Linked DNA regions of Homo sapiens: regions 2, 3 and 4 are each linked to region 1. Evidence: promoter capture Hi-C in human tissues and cell types (Jung and others, 2019). All regions are on one chromosome and are shown on one strand. Each heading gives the region's core, a stretch centred on a gene start or on the middle of the fragment in contact. The rest is flanking DNA. Distances are from core to core; before and after follow the strand shown. Region 1 holds the start of TP53INP2 (tumor protein p53 inducible nuclear protein 2). Region 2 overlaps ITCH (itchy E3 ubiquitin protein ligase). Region 3 overlaps ITCH (itchy E3 ubiquitin protein ligase). Region 4 overlaps ITCH (itchy E3 ubiquitin protein ligase).

Evidence for each region. Contacts are between HindIII fragments. The study calls those that stand out against the background at their distance.
Region 2: a fragment that was not itself captured here is called in contact with the fragment with the promoter of TP53INP2 in region 1 in 2 of the 25 tissues and cell types used here (lymphoblastoid cells and spleen).
Region 3: a fragment that was not itself captured here is called in contact with the fragment with the promoter of TP53INP2 in region 1 in 2 of the 25 tissues and cell types used here (dorsolateral prefrontal cortex and lymphoblastoid cells).
Region 4: a fragment that was not itself captured here is called in contact with the fragment with the promoter of TP53INP2 in region 1 in 2 of the 25 tissues and cell types used here (dorsolateral prefrontal cortex and lymphoblastoid cells).

Annotation. Positions count from the first base shown.
Region 1 is chr20:34,702,996-34,705,698 of GRCh38, forward strand. It overlaps TP53INP2 (tumor protein p53 inducible nuclear protein 2), which reads left to right and starts at 1,349. Exons shown (of 5, transcript NM_021202.3): 1 at 1,349-1,517; 2 at 2,363-2,479. LOC105372599 (a long non-coding RNA gene) reads right to left here and starts at 1,187. Exons shown (of 2, transcript XR_936690.3): 1 at 1,142-1,187; 2 at 664-818. RefSeq lists a silencer at 1,145-1,624. The HindIII fragment of the contact is 10,895 bases long and covers 1-2,703 here.
Region 2 is chr20:34,372,794-34,375,496 of GRCh38, forward strand. The region is part of intron 2 of ITCH (itchy E3 ubiquitin protein ligase); the gene reads left to right. Among named protein-coding and RNA genes, the nearest start is that of ITCH, 11 kb to the left of the region's middle. The HindIII fragment of the contact is 5,475 bases long and covers 1-2,703 here.
Region 3 is chr20:34,408,388-34,411,090 of GRCh38, forward strand. It overlaps ITCH (itchy E3 ubiquitin protein ligase), which reads left to right. Exons shown (of 25, transcript NM_031483.7): 4 at 264-405. Among named protein-coding and RNA genes, the nearest start is that of ITCH, 46 kb to the left of the region's middle. The HindIII fragment of the contact is 5,070 bases long and covers 1-2,703 here.
Region 4 is chr20:34,437,745-34,440,447 of GRCh38, forward strand. ITCH (itchy E3 ubiquitin protein ligase) reads left to right here. Exons shown (of 25, transcript NM_031483.7): 8 at 730-887; 9 at 2,411-2,600. Among named protein-coding and RNA genes, the nearest start is that of MIR644A, 27 kb to the right of the region's middle. The HindIII fragment of the contact is 9,574 bases long and covers 1-2,703 here.

The DNA of each region.
Region 1 (2,703 bases), core at 99-2,598:
AGGCCACTGGGAGAGCTGGGGCCTAGAGCGTGGGGTGGGTGGAATCCTGAGGGCAGAGAGTGTGGAAGAATCTTACAATGGCAGCTCTAGAGGGAAGCCTGGATATGTTTGTTTGACAAACTGAGACCCAGAGAGGTAACATGACTTGAGGTCACACAGCAAGTCTAGGGCACAGTCAGGACTGAAAGCCAGGACTCTGGGGAGGCTAAAGCGCCCTGAGGTTTAGACCATCTGGTTCATGTAGAGAATGGAGAGGGTCAGGGCTGGGAGCTATGGGTTCAAATCCTGGCTCTGCCATTGACTGTACTTTTGTGACCTAAGAAAGTCACTTGAGCTCTCTGAGTCTGTTTCCTCAACTGTTAAACGGGACAATATCTACCTTTTGGGTTGTTGTGAAGATAAAAAAACACACCCATAGCACAGGTCGTGGCACACAGTAAGTGTGCCAATACATGTCAGCTAGTGGTATGGTGGTGCAATAGTAGGTGCCTAATAAATGTTGAATGCATTGTTGAACATGAGTTCACACGCTAACAGTGAGATTGTGAGACTCAGCTTTCCCACGTGTAAATCAGGACTCATAATCAGTCCCTGTCCTGCCACTTCTTTACAGCCCCGGTAGCAACATAGATTAAATAAGGTATGTAAACGTTCAAGCGCGGAGCCGTCTCAGGTCAATGTTTACTCAGCCCAGGGCAATTCCTCTCCAAGTCCTACTCTGCGAAATTTCACGTCAGCTTCACTAACTTCTCTACATTCCCAGATGCTCCCCGGGAACCGGGGGTTGGGGATGTCCCTCTTTTCTCAAGCCCGCCGAGCTGAGGAAAAACGGGGTGGGAAAGCAGAGTGTGTAAGGCTGAGGAGGTGAGCCAGAGGGGGGAGGGAGAGCAGGAATAAGGGCAGTGGGGAGAATGCAGGTGCACGGACGTGGTGTGGGTCGAGAACAGGGTCCGCATCGGGGGACTTGGATATAGGATGCAGTGAAAGGATTTGGGGAGCAGTGGGAGAGGTGAGGGCGCTGCGATCCGGGAAGAATCAGGAAAATAAGGAGCCGGTAGGAGGGAGTGGAGATCCTCCTCGCGGAGAGCTCGCCGCGGCGCAGGGCTCCCAGCTCCCCGCAGCTGCCTCCCCGAACACTCACCCTCCCGGTTCCGAGAACGTTTCCCGGCCCGAGCGCCCGGCCCGCAAACCGGGAGGGGAGGGGAGGGGAGGGGCAGGGGGGGATCCGCAGCCCGGGATTGGCCGCCGCCCCGCCAGCCGGTGACGCGAGGCGGGCGGGCCCCTTTGTGACGTCACAATCAGCTGTTTGAACGTTCCAATTTGTGCCGTGAGCCCCGCCGCAGCGGCCGCACAGACTCAAAGCCCCGCGGGCGAGCTCAGCAGCCCGGAGCGACCGCGGCCCCGCCGCCTCCCCCGCGAGTCCCGGCGATGCGGCCCGGCCTGTGAGCGGCCGGCGACCCTGGGACGCCCCGCCGCACAACTACCTCAACGCCGTGCCGCCCCCCTCCCGCCCCCAGGTGAGTCCCGACCCGGGTGGGCCTGGGGGCTCCCCTGCCACGGACACGCCCTGCGCCCCCCGCGCCCGGGCCTTTGTCTGTCTCCGCCGGCGGCCGCCGGGGCCGCGTTCCCGGCTCCCGATTGGTTGCCGCACGCCCGGTAGACCATGACGTCGTTCTATTTGCATATGACATTGAGACGTCACCAAGGCCGGTACCGCCCCCACAGGCTCGGGTCGCTTGTCCTCCCGTGACCCGGTAGCCGCTGTGTCGGGGCTGGGCCCTGGGTGAGACGCTGCAATCCAAAGGGGGCTGCAGGGGGATCGGCGATTTCCTAGGCTTATCCAGGGGCTGGGGTCAGGCCTCTGATCCCCTACTTTCTCTTTGCAACCTGAGAAGGAGTCAGACGGCGCTGCTGGGCCTAGGTTGAGGGGGTCGTCAGGAGTTCAGGGCTGCATGGGACTCCAGGTGGTTGGGACAGCACCAGATGGTGGTGGGATCCCCTCCCTCCGGCTCCAGACTCCGCCCCCAGGGACTAACAGAATAACATCCTCCTAATCCCTGATTTGTGTGCAGCGCCTTAGCTGATGTCACTCCTAGACCCAAAATGAAGGGTCTTAGACCCCAGTGCATGGAAGGGGCAACAGGCCCAGAGAGGAGGATTAGCTCTCTCGAGGTCACATAACCAATTAGAGTCATGCTCACTGAGTGACAGATGGATTATTAGCCAGGGGCAAAGACATAATAGGGGCTCAGTACAAGTGGTAAGATACACATCCTCCTTCCACTGGGGACCCGATCTTGGGCTCAGCCTTATCACGGTTTGATAGGCTCCTAGGTGTCCTTACTCCTGGACCCTTTTCCAGGGAATCTCTGGAGATTGGTTCACCTTTTGTGGTCCTGACCCCTTCTGTCCTCACTGTACCTTGAAGTCCTAGAGTCCAATAAAATCGCTGCCTCCCAGCTGTTTGGATCACAGAGAGGTGAGTCATTGGCTGCCTCGGGGTGTCTCCAGGGCTGATGTTGGGGTGGAGGGTGGGGTGAGGGTTCCCTCTATTGGCCCTTTACCTTCCCAACTTCCTAGGTCGTCAGCTAGGAAGGGCCTGACCTGGCCTAGTGCAGACAATTGCAGGTGTTTTGCTGCTCCCTCGTCACCTCTGCCCACAGAGAGTATAGGAGAAGGGATAGGATAAGGAGAGTTTCTGAC
Region 2 (2,703 bases), core at 100-2,599, 330 kb before region 1:
CCAAGGGGTACTCAAATATAAAACTCCTGGTTTAAGGATTTTGTCAGGAAAACAGACTTCCTTGCCAGTGATTGATTATTATAAAAAGGAAGTTGGTAAATGTTACAAGAGTTTCATTGCATTGCAATTTAAGAAATTAAGTTCAGATTTTTTGGTTCCTTTAACATGATTGAATGTATTCCTTTTTTTTTTTTTTTTGAGACGGAGTTTTTCTCTTGTTGCCGAGGCTGGAGTGCAATGGTGCAATCTCAGCTTACTGCAGCCTCCACCCACTGGGTTCAAGCGATTCTCCTGCCTGAGTCTCCCAAGTAGCTGGGATTATAGGCATGTGCCACCACGCCCAGCTAATTTTGTATTTTTACTAGAGATAGGGTTTCACTGTGTTGGTGAGGCTGATCTTGAACTCCTGACCTCAAATAATCCACCTGCCTCGACCTCCCAAAGTTCTGGATTACAGGCATAAGCCACTGCACCTGGCCAAATGTATTTTTTTTTTTTTTTTGAGGCAGAGTCTTGTTCTCGCCCAGGCTGGAGTGCAGTGGTGTAATCTTGGCTCACTGCAACCTCCGTTTCCTGGGTTCAAGCCATTCTCCTGCCTCAGCCTCCTGGGTAGCTGGGATTACAGGTCCCTGCCACCATGGCCAGCTAATTTTTATATTTTTACTAGAGATGGGGTTTCACCATATTGGCCAGGCTGGTCTCAAACTCCTGACTTCAGGTGATCCGCCTGCCTTGGCCTCCCAAAGTGCTGGAATTATAGGCATTCGGCCTAACATAATTGAATGTATTTTAAGTGCTGCTGTATGCTAGACATTGCAGGGACTTATGGTGAAAAAGCAATCTCTGCCCTCCAGCAACTCGCATTTTTTTTTTCCATGTCTGGAAATTGCTTACCCTAATAGATCTATCCTTCTGTCCCAGAAAAGAGAAGAATTTTAATACTATGTCGTCACTTACAGGTTAAGAATTCATCTACATATTGAGCTTAACTCACTCCAGAAATATCTACTAACTTGCTTGCTTTCTGAGAAAATGTTTATTATTTTACTGGATTCTGCAACCTTTTCTTTGTCAGTTACAAGAGAACATTTTTTTTTTTTATTTTTTTTTAAGATGCAGTCTTGCTTTGTCGCCAGGCTGGAGTGCAGTGGCACAGTCTTGGCTGACTGTAATCTCCGTCTCCCAGGTTAAAGCGATTCCCCTGCCTCAGCCTCCCATGTAGCTGGGACTACAGGTGCCCACCACCACGCCTGGCTAATTTTTTGTATTTTAGTAGAGACGAGGTTTCACCATGTTGGCCAGGATGGACTTTTTATTTTTTATTTTTTTAAGACAAGATAAGCTCCAGAAATAACCATCTGCATTTAGGTGAACTTTGATTTGCTTGTTAGGCCTTCATTCGTGCAAAGAAAGAGTAGGTTCTACAATTTTGTCTTGATTATTTTTCCAAATAATCAAATTTAGTTGGTCACAAAGGAAAGGATTTTAGTCTAAAGGATTATATTGTAGGAGTTAACAGTATTTACTGGAGTTAGGTTGATTTTGAATTTTGACTCTACTGTGTAGTGGTGGTATGATCTTGGCCAACTTGCCTAACTTCTTTTTGCCTTAGTTTTCTCATCTGTAAATTGGGAATAGTAATAGCATATATACATAGGTATTATGTGTTTCTGCTTGAACAAGACTTGGCTCACAGTGTGAAGTGTTAGTCGTTGTTTTCATTATCATCATTACCATCAACCTTATCTTTCTTAAAGTTATGATCTGAGTTCATAAATCATTCAGTAAACCTATTTAGGCTGAGCATTGTAAATTTAAATGCCTGCAAGGGCTGGATGAACATTTAGTAAGTAATGACAGATCAGACTGGGACTTTAAGTGAACTAGGGAATTCATTCCCCTCCAAGGGAGCAGCTGTTAAAGCAGCTTTGGCTTACAATTTTTTTTTTTTTTTTTTGAGACAGAGTTTCACTTTTGTTGCCCAGGCTGGAGTGCAGTGGCATGATCTTGGCTCACTGCAACCTCAACCTCTGCCTCCCGGGTTCAAGCAATTCTCCTGCCTCAGCCTCCCAAGTAGCTGGAATTACAGGTGCTCTCCACCACGCCTGGCTAATTTTTTGTATTTTTAGTAGAGATAGGGTTTCATCATTTTGGCCAGGCTGGTGTTGAACTCCTGACCTCAGGTGATCCACCCGCCTCGGCCTCCCAAAGTGCTGGGATTACAGGTGTCAGCCACCACGCCTGGCGTGATTTTTTTTTTTTTTTGAGACAGAATCTCGCTCTTGTTGCCCCAGCTGGAGTGCAATGGCGCAATCTTGGCTTACCATAACCTCCGCTTTCCGGGTTCAAGCAATTCTCCTGCCTCAGCCTCCCAAGTAGCTGGGTTTACAGGTGTGTGCCACCACGCCTGGCTAATTTTGTATTTTTAGCAGAGACGAGGTTTCTCCATGTTGGTCAGGCTGGTCTGGAACTTCCGACCTCAGGTGATCCGCCTGCCTCGGCCTCCCAAAATGCTGAGATTACAGGCGTGAGCCACCGCACCTGGCCTTTTTTTTTTTTTTTTTTAATGGAGGTAAAAGTAAGTATGTGAGGTTATGTATATGTTATTTAGCTCGATTTAGCCATTCCACAACATGTACATATTTTAAAACATGTTATGGGCTGGTCATGGTGGCTCATGCCATAATCCCAGCACTTTGAGAG
Region 3 (2,703 bases), core at 123-2,622, 290 kb before region 1:
TTAATTGATCTGAGTTCTGGACTTTTGATACCATGGAATTCTACTGATGGGAATTTGGGTTGATGGTACGGGGAACCTCTATATTTATTTACTAGGATGGGAGGAAGTACAAAGGTTATGAGTGAATAAAATTGGTAAGTATTTTAGAGCAAAACTGCTTCTCTGAGTAAATTTAGTAAATCTGCCTAATTATGAAGTTAAATTGATTTCATGAGTGAATTAACATCTCAACTATTGAAATGTTTTTCATTTCTTTTACATAGTCATCTCAGCAAAACTTAAGGAAAATAAGAAGAATTGGTTTGGACCAAGTCCTTACGTAGAGGTCACAGTAGATGGACAGTCAAAGAAGACAGAAAAATGCAACAACACAAACAGTCCCAAGTGGAAGCAACCCCTTACAGTGTAAGCTTGGAAGTATTTTTCTGTAGTATGTTTTGTTTAGTAGATGATTGGAAATACAATTTAAAAAAATGTTTCTCACTTTGGTTTTTTGTTGTTGTTGTTCCTCCTTTCTCTCTTCTTTTTTTTTTTTTCTTTTTCCTAGGACTCCTTCTGGTTTGCTTTTTTGTTTCTCTTTAGATAGCTGTTTTTATAGTCACTCCCTTTCTTTACCTTCTCTAGTTTAGTTGGTGATGATATTGCTCTTGTCACTGAACAATAGCTGAAGAGAGCCCATGGTCACGGACCTAAAAAGATTTCTGGCAGCACTTTTTATTAACTTTGGGTTGAATTAAGGGATTATGAGTACTCCCCCCCCCCCCGGTTTTTAACTTAATTTTTAAAAATAGTGTTTTAGTTAGTTTTTTCTTTGTTTTATTTTGAGATAGAGCCTCACCCTGTCACCCAAGCTGGAGTATAGTGGCACTATCATAGCTCACAGCAGCCTTGAACTCCTGGCCTCAAGAGATCCTCCTGCCTCAGCCTCCCAAGTAGCTGGGACCACAGGCATGCATCACTGTGCCTGGCCAGTTTTTTAGTATTTTAAATTACGGTGCCAGTTATACTATAGTTATTTATTTTTTGAATGAGATGGGGTCTTGCTATGTTGTCCAGAGTGCTCTCTCTCAACCTTCCCGGCTCAAGCAGTCTTCCCATCTCAGCCTTTTTCTCAAGTAGCTAGGACTACTACTATACATTTTATTCTACAACTTTCTTTTTGTACTTAACACTAATATCATGGTGATCTCTTTACCTGAGTACATATGGATCTTGCATCCCTTATATAGCTTTGTAATATTCCTTAATATGGGTGGACTATATTTTAATAGTTCTGTATTGATTCTAATGTTGCGCTATTAGGCAGTATTGCAGATACATCCATGTGCATATATCTTTGTATGTTGGTGTTTATATCTGTAGTGTAGATTCATAGAAGTAGGATATAGCTCAGTTTTAACACAAAGCCCTAAATGTTGGCATTATAATCTAAGATATTGACAGCCATTGAAGGTTAATTTTAATTTTTAAAATTAAAATAGAAGAAAACACATGGAGCCAGGTGTGGTGGCTCACACCTGTAATCTCAACTCTTTGGGAGACTGAGCCAGGAGGATTGTGTGAGGCCAGGAGTTCAAAGGTGCAGTTTGATATGATTGCTCCTGTGAATTGCTACTGAACTCTAGCCTGGGCAATGTAGCGAGACCCTGTCTCTACAAAAAGACAAACAAAAAAAAAAAAGAAGAAAAAGAATGATTTGGCCAGGCATGGTGGCTCACTCCTGTAATCCCAGCAGTTTGGGAGGCCAAGGTAGGAGGATCACCTGAGGTCAGGAGTTCGAGACCAGCCTGACCAACGTGGTGAAACCCCATCTCTACTAAAAATACAAAAATTAGCTGGGTGTGGTGGTGGGTGCCTGTAATCCCAGCTACTCGGGAGGCTGAGACAGGAGAATTGGTTGAACCTGGTAGGCGGAGGTTGCAGGTTGCAGTGAACTGAGATCGTGCCATTGCGTTCCAGCCAGGGTGACAAGTGAAACTCTGTCTCAAAAAAGAGAGAAAAAAAAAAAAGAATTTATGGAAGATCATCTTGAGGCCCGTATCATTCGGATGTTCCTCATCTGTGTTTATTTCAACATAAATGTTTCTTAGGCTTTCTGTTTTTAATTAATGGCTCATTGTAGATTGAGTCAAAATGAAACAATGTATTAAAAAAATTTCAAGAAAACACATGAGGCTGGGAATGACTGCACATGTTTGCAATCCCAGCTACTTGGGAGGATAAGGGGGGAGGATAAGGTGCTTTAGCCCAGGAGGAGTTCGAGATTAACCAGGGCAAAGTAGCGAGTTCCCATCTCATATATATTTTTTCCTTTACCAAGTGGTATCTATAAAAGGTCGCAGCCTCCATGATTACCAGAGATGTTCAGTTGAATTAGATGGTCACCTAATTTCCTCCAACTGCTTTGAGTGCGTACTTGATATGCACTTGGAGGCTCTTAAGCTGTTAATGTCATGAACTTCTTAGTGATTTAAAAGTTAAGAAAAAAACTCTCTTTGTAGTTCTATGTGGTAGTGCTGTTCTTGATTACAAACATTTGGGAAACTTACAATTCAAGTTATTTTCCTGAATTTTTAAGTTGCAGCAAATTGGCCTGGAATTTTATCACTTCCCATTGTCGTGTAGCAGGCTTTCCAGACTGCTTTTGAGAATTGAATTGAAACAAGACTGATCATCTTTGACAGTATACTTTATGTACCTTTC
Region 4 (2,703 bases), core at 73-2,572, 270 kb before region 1:
ATGCCCTTGTTTCTAATCTATGACTAGAGCCCCTCTGGAAGGAAAAGGAATCAGCTATATTTAGCCAACAGTAGCAGTAGCTTTCAGTCTGACATTTCCTGTTAGTGTTCTTCCCTCCTTTCTATCCCTCCAGTTGATGTCATTGCTTTGAAGAAATGACAGCTCCTTTAAAAAAAGTCTGTGGTTACTTCTACTCTAAATCACTAGCTTTGAACATTTTGTGTACCATTGTACTGAGCTGGGGGATATCAGGGCCTAGTCCCTGGGAAATACGTGCACTTTGTTCTCCTAGCATGGGAAAACCAGACCTGCCTCAAACTTGAATTAATAGCCAGTGGAAATCAAGAAACAACAATGGTAAAGTTATCTGTGCTTGTGATAAAATAGTGCCCTAAGGATTTTGAGAACTTGACTTTGTTCCTGTTCATATAGGGCCTTCTGAAGGCTTATTTGAAATATGAACCAGCATACCTAATAGTTCTGAATGGCCACAAGTGTTCCTATGCCCTTGGACAACCCATCACTCTATCTCTAGATGAACTCTGGGGGTTATATAGGATTCTACCCAAAGGCTCTTTATGTATTTAATAAGGCTGACCAGAAATTAAAAAGCTTTTTTGAAGCTCTTAAAAACTTAGAAGTTTTCATCCTCCTGCTGTTTTTTTTCTTAAATTCAAGGAGTATTCATTATTTCCCTCTCCCCCTTCCTTTTCCCCTCTTCTTACCCAGAGTGAGCACAAATGGATCAGATGACCCTGAAGATGCAGGAGCTGGTGAAAATAGGAGAGTCAGTGGGAATAATTCTCCATCACTCTCAAATGGTGGTTTTAAACCTTCTAGACCTCCAAGACCTTCACGACCACCACCACCCACCCCACGTAGACCAGGTTTGTATTCCAGCTCTCAATACTCTTGGAAATAATGTCCTGGTTGGCAATTAATCCTCAGGTAAGTGTCAGGAAATTCTTTTAGGTGAATTTTCTGCGTGTATTTTTACATTTAAGATTTTGGAAAAGAATGATCTTTCTGTAGGTAACCAAAAGTGCCTTTTTCCTAAGTTTTTGTTCAAGGTGACGTTACTGAGGCAGTGCTCTACTGAGAATGAAAATGACATGTGCGTAATATAAAGTATAGGCGGTGCAGATAACATGGCAATAACATTGTACCTTTCTTAAATGGTTTGTAACTATAACATAAATGTATTAAATACTCAAGGATTTGGTTGCTTATTCCTAGTATATCCTTTAAAAAGTTAGTAAACGAAAACCCAACAATGCTAAATGACCCAGATTTTAAATAAAAAGTACACAACAAACAAGCATATTTTAGGTAGTAAAAATGTGAACACCTATAAGACTATCCACTTCTCTGATAGCCAGAACAAATCTTTAATCTTACCTTTTATTGTTTCTCTCTGCTAATATGTGGGCAGGGAATGCAGTGTAGTTAAACCAAATATTACTAGAAAAGTACATTAGTTCTCTGCAAATAATTTTAAGTGAATTTCTATTCAATTATACATCTTCTCCTTTTTATTTTTTTATTTTTTGAGACAGGGTCTCACTCTGTCACCCAGACTGGAATGTGGTGACATCTCAGCTCACTGCCACCTCTACTTCCCAGGCTCAAGTGATTGTCTAGCCTCAGCCTCCCGAGTAGCTGGTACCACAGTCATGAGCCACCAATGCCTGGCTAAATATTTATATTTTTTGTAGAGATGGAGTTTTGCCATGTTGCGCAGGCTGGTCTGGAGCTCCTGAGCTGAAAGTGATCCTTCTGCCTCGGCCTCCCAAAGTGTGGGAGTTACGGGCGTAAGCCACTGCAGCCACATCTTCCCCTTTTATAGATAATTTGATTAATTGTATATTCTGAGTCTTTAAGATGTCTTTATTATAATCTTGGTGACTTCCTCTAGACATTGTTTTGTCCACAAGTATTTCTTAAAGGTGTAATGTATGACTACTAACTATCTGTAAGAATGTTATTTCTTATCAGACCTTCCATATTATAACCAACATCAAAAATTGGTCTGTAATCTGCACGGTTTCACAGGAAAGCAGTTTTAAGGAGCTGGAAAATTAATAAATGAACTTAAAATACCAAGGAATATTAATAATTTCCTATTCTAAAAGTTTTTATTTCCAGTGACATCAGAAGATCAGAGAACCTGTACATGCTTCGTGATTAGTAATGGGACATAGGGGTAGACAGGACCGAAAAAGTAAACAAGCCTATTAACTGGCAGCGTTGGTTATTTCCCATTACTTATTTCTTTAAGTAATTTTCACCTGTGCATCTACATCTTAAGTTTTATATTTATCATCTGCCTTTTATTTTTTACAGTTAAAATTCTATCCTGAATTTTAGAAAATGAAAGATTCTTTTCCTATTTTCCCCAAATCTTTTATAGCATCTGTCAATGGTTCACCATCTGCCACTTCTGAAAGTGATGGGTCTAGTACAGGCTCTCTGCCGCCGACAAATACAAATACAAATACATCTGAAGGAGCAACATCTGGATTAATAATTCCTCTTACTATATCTGGAGGCTCAGGCCCTAGGCCATTAAATCCTGTAACTCAAGCTCCCTTGCCACCTGGGTGAGTAACTTTTTAAATTAACATATGTTGTCTTTAGGATTCTTCATAAGCCTACTTATTAATAAGGAAAATAACAGTAAACAACAGTAAACTCCATTGTTTT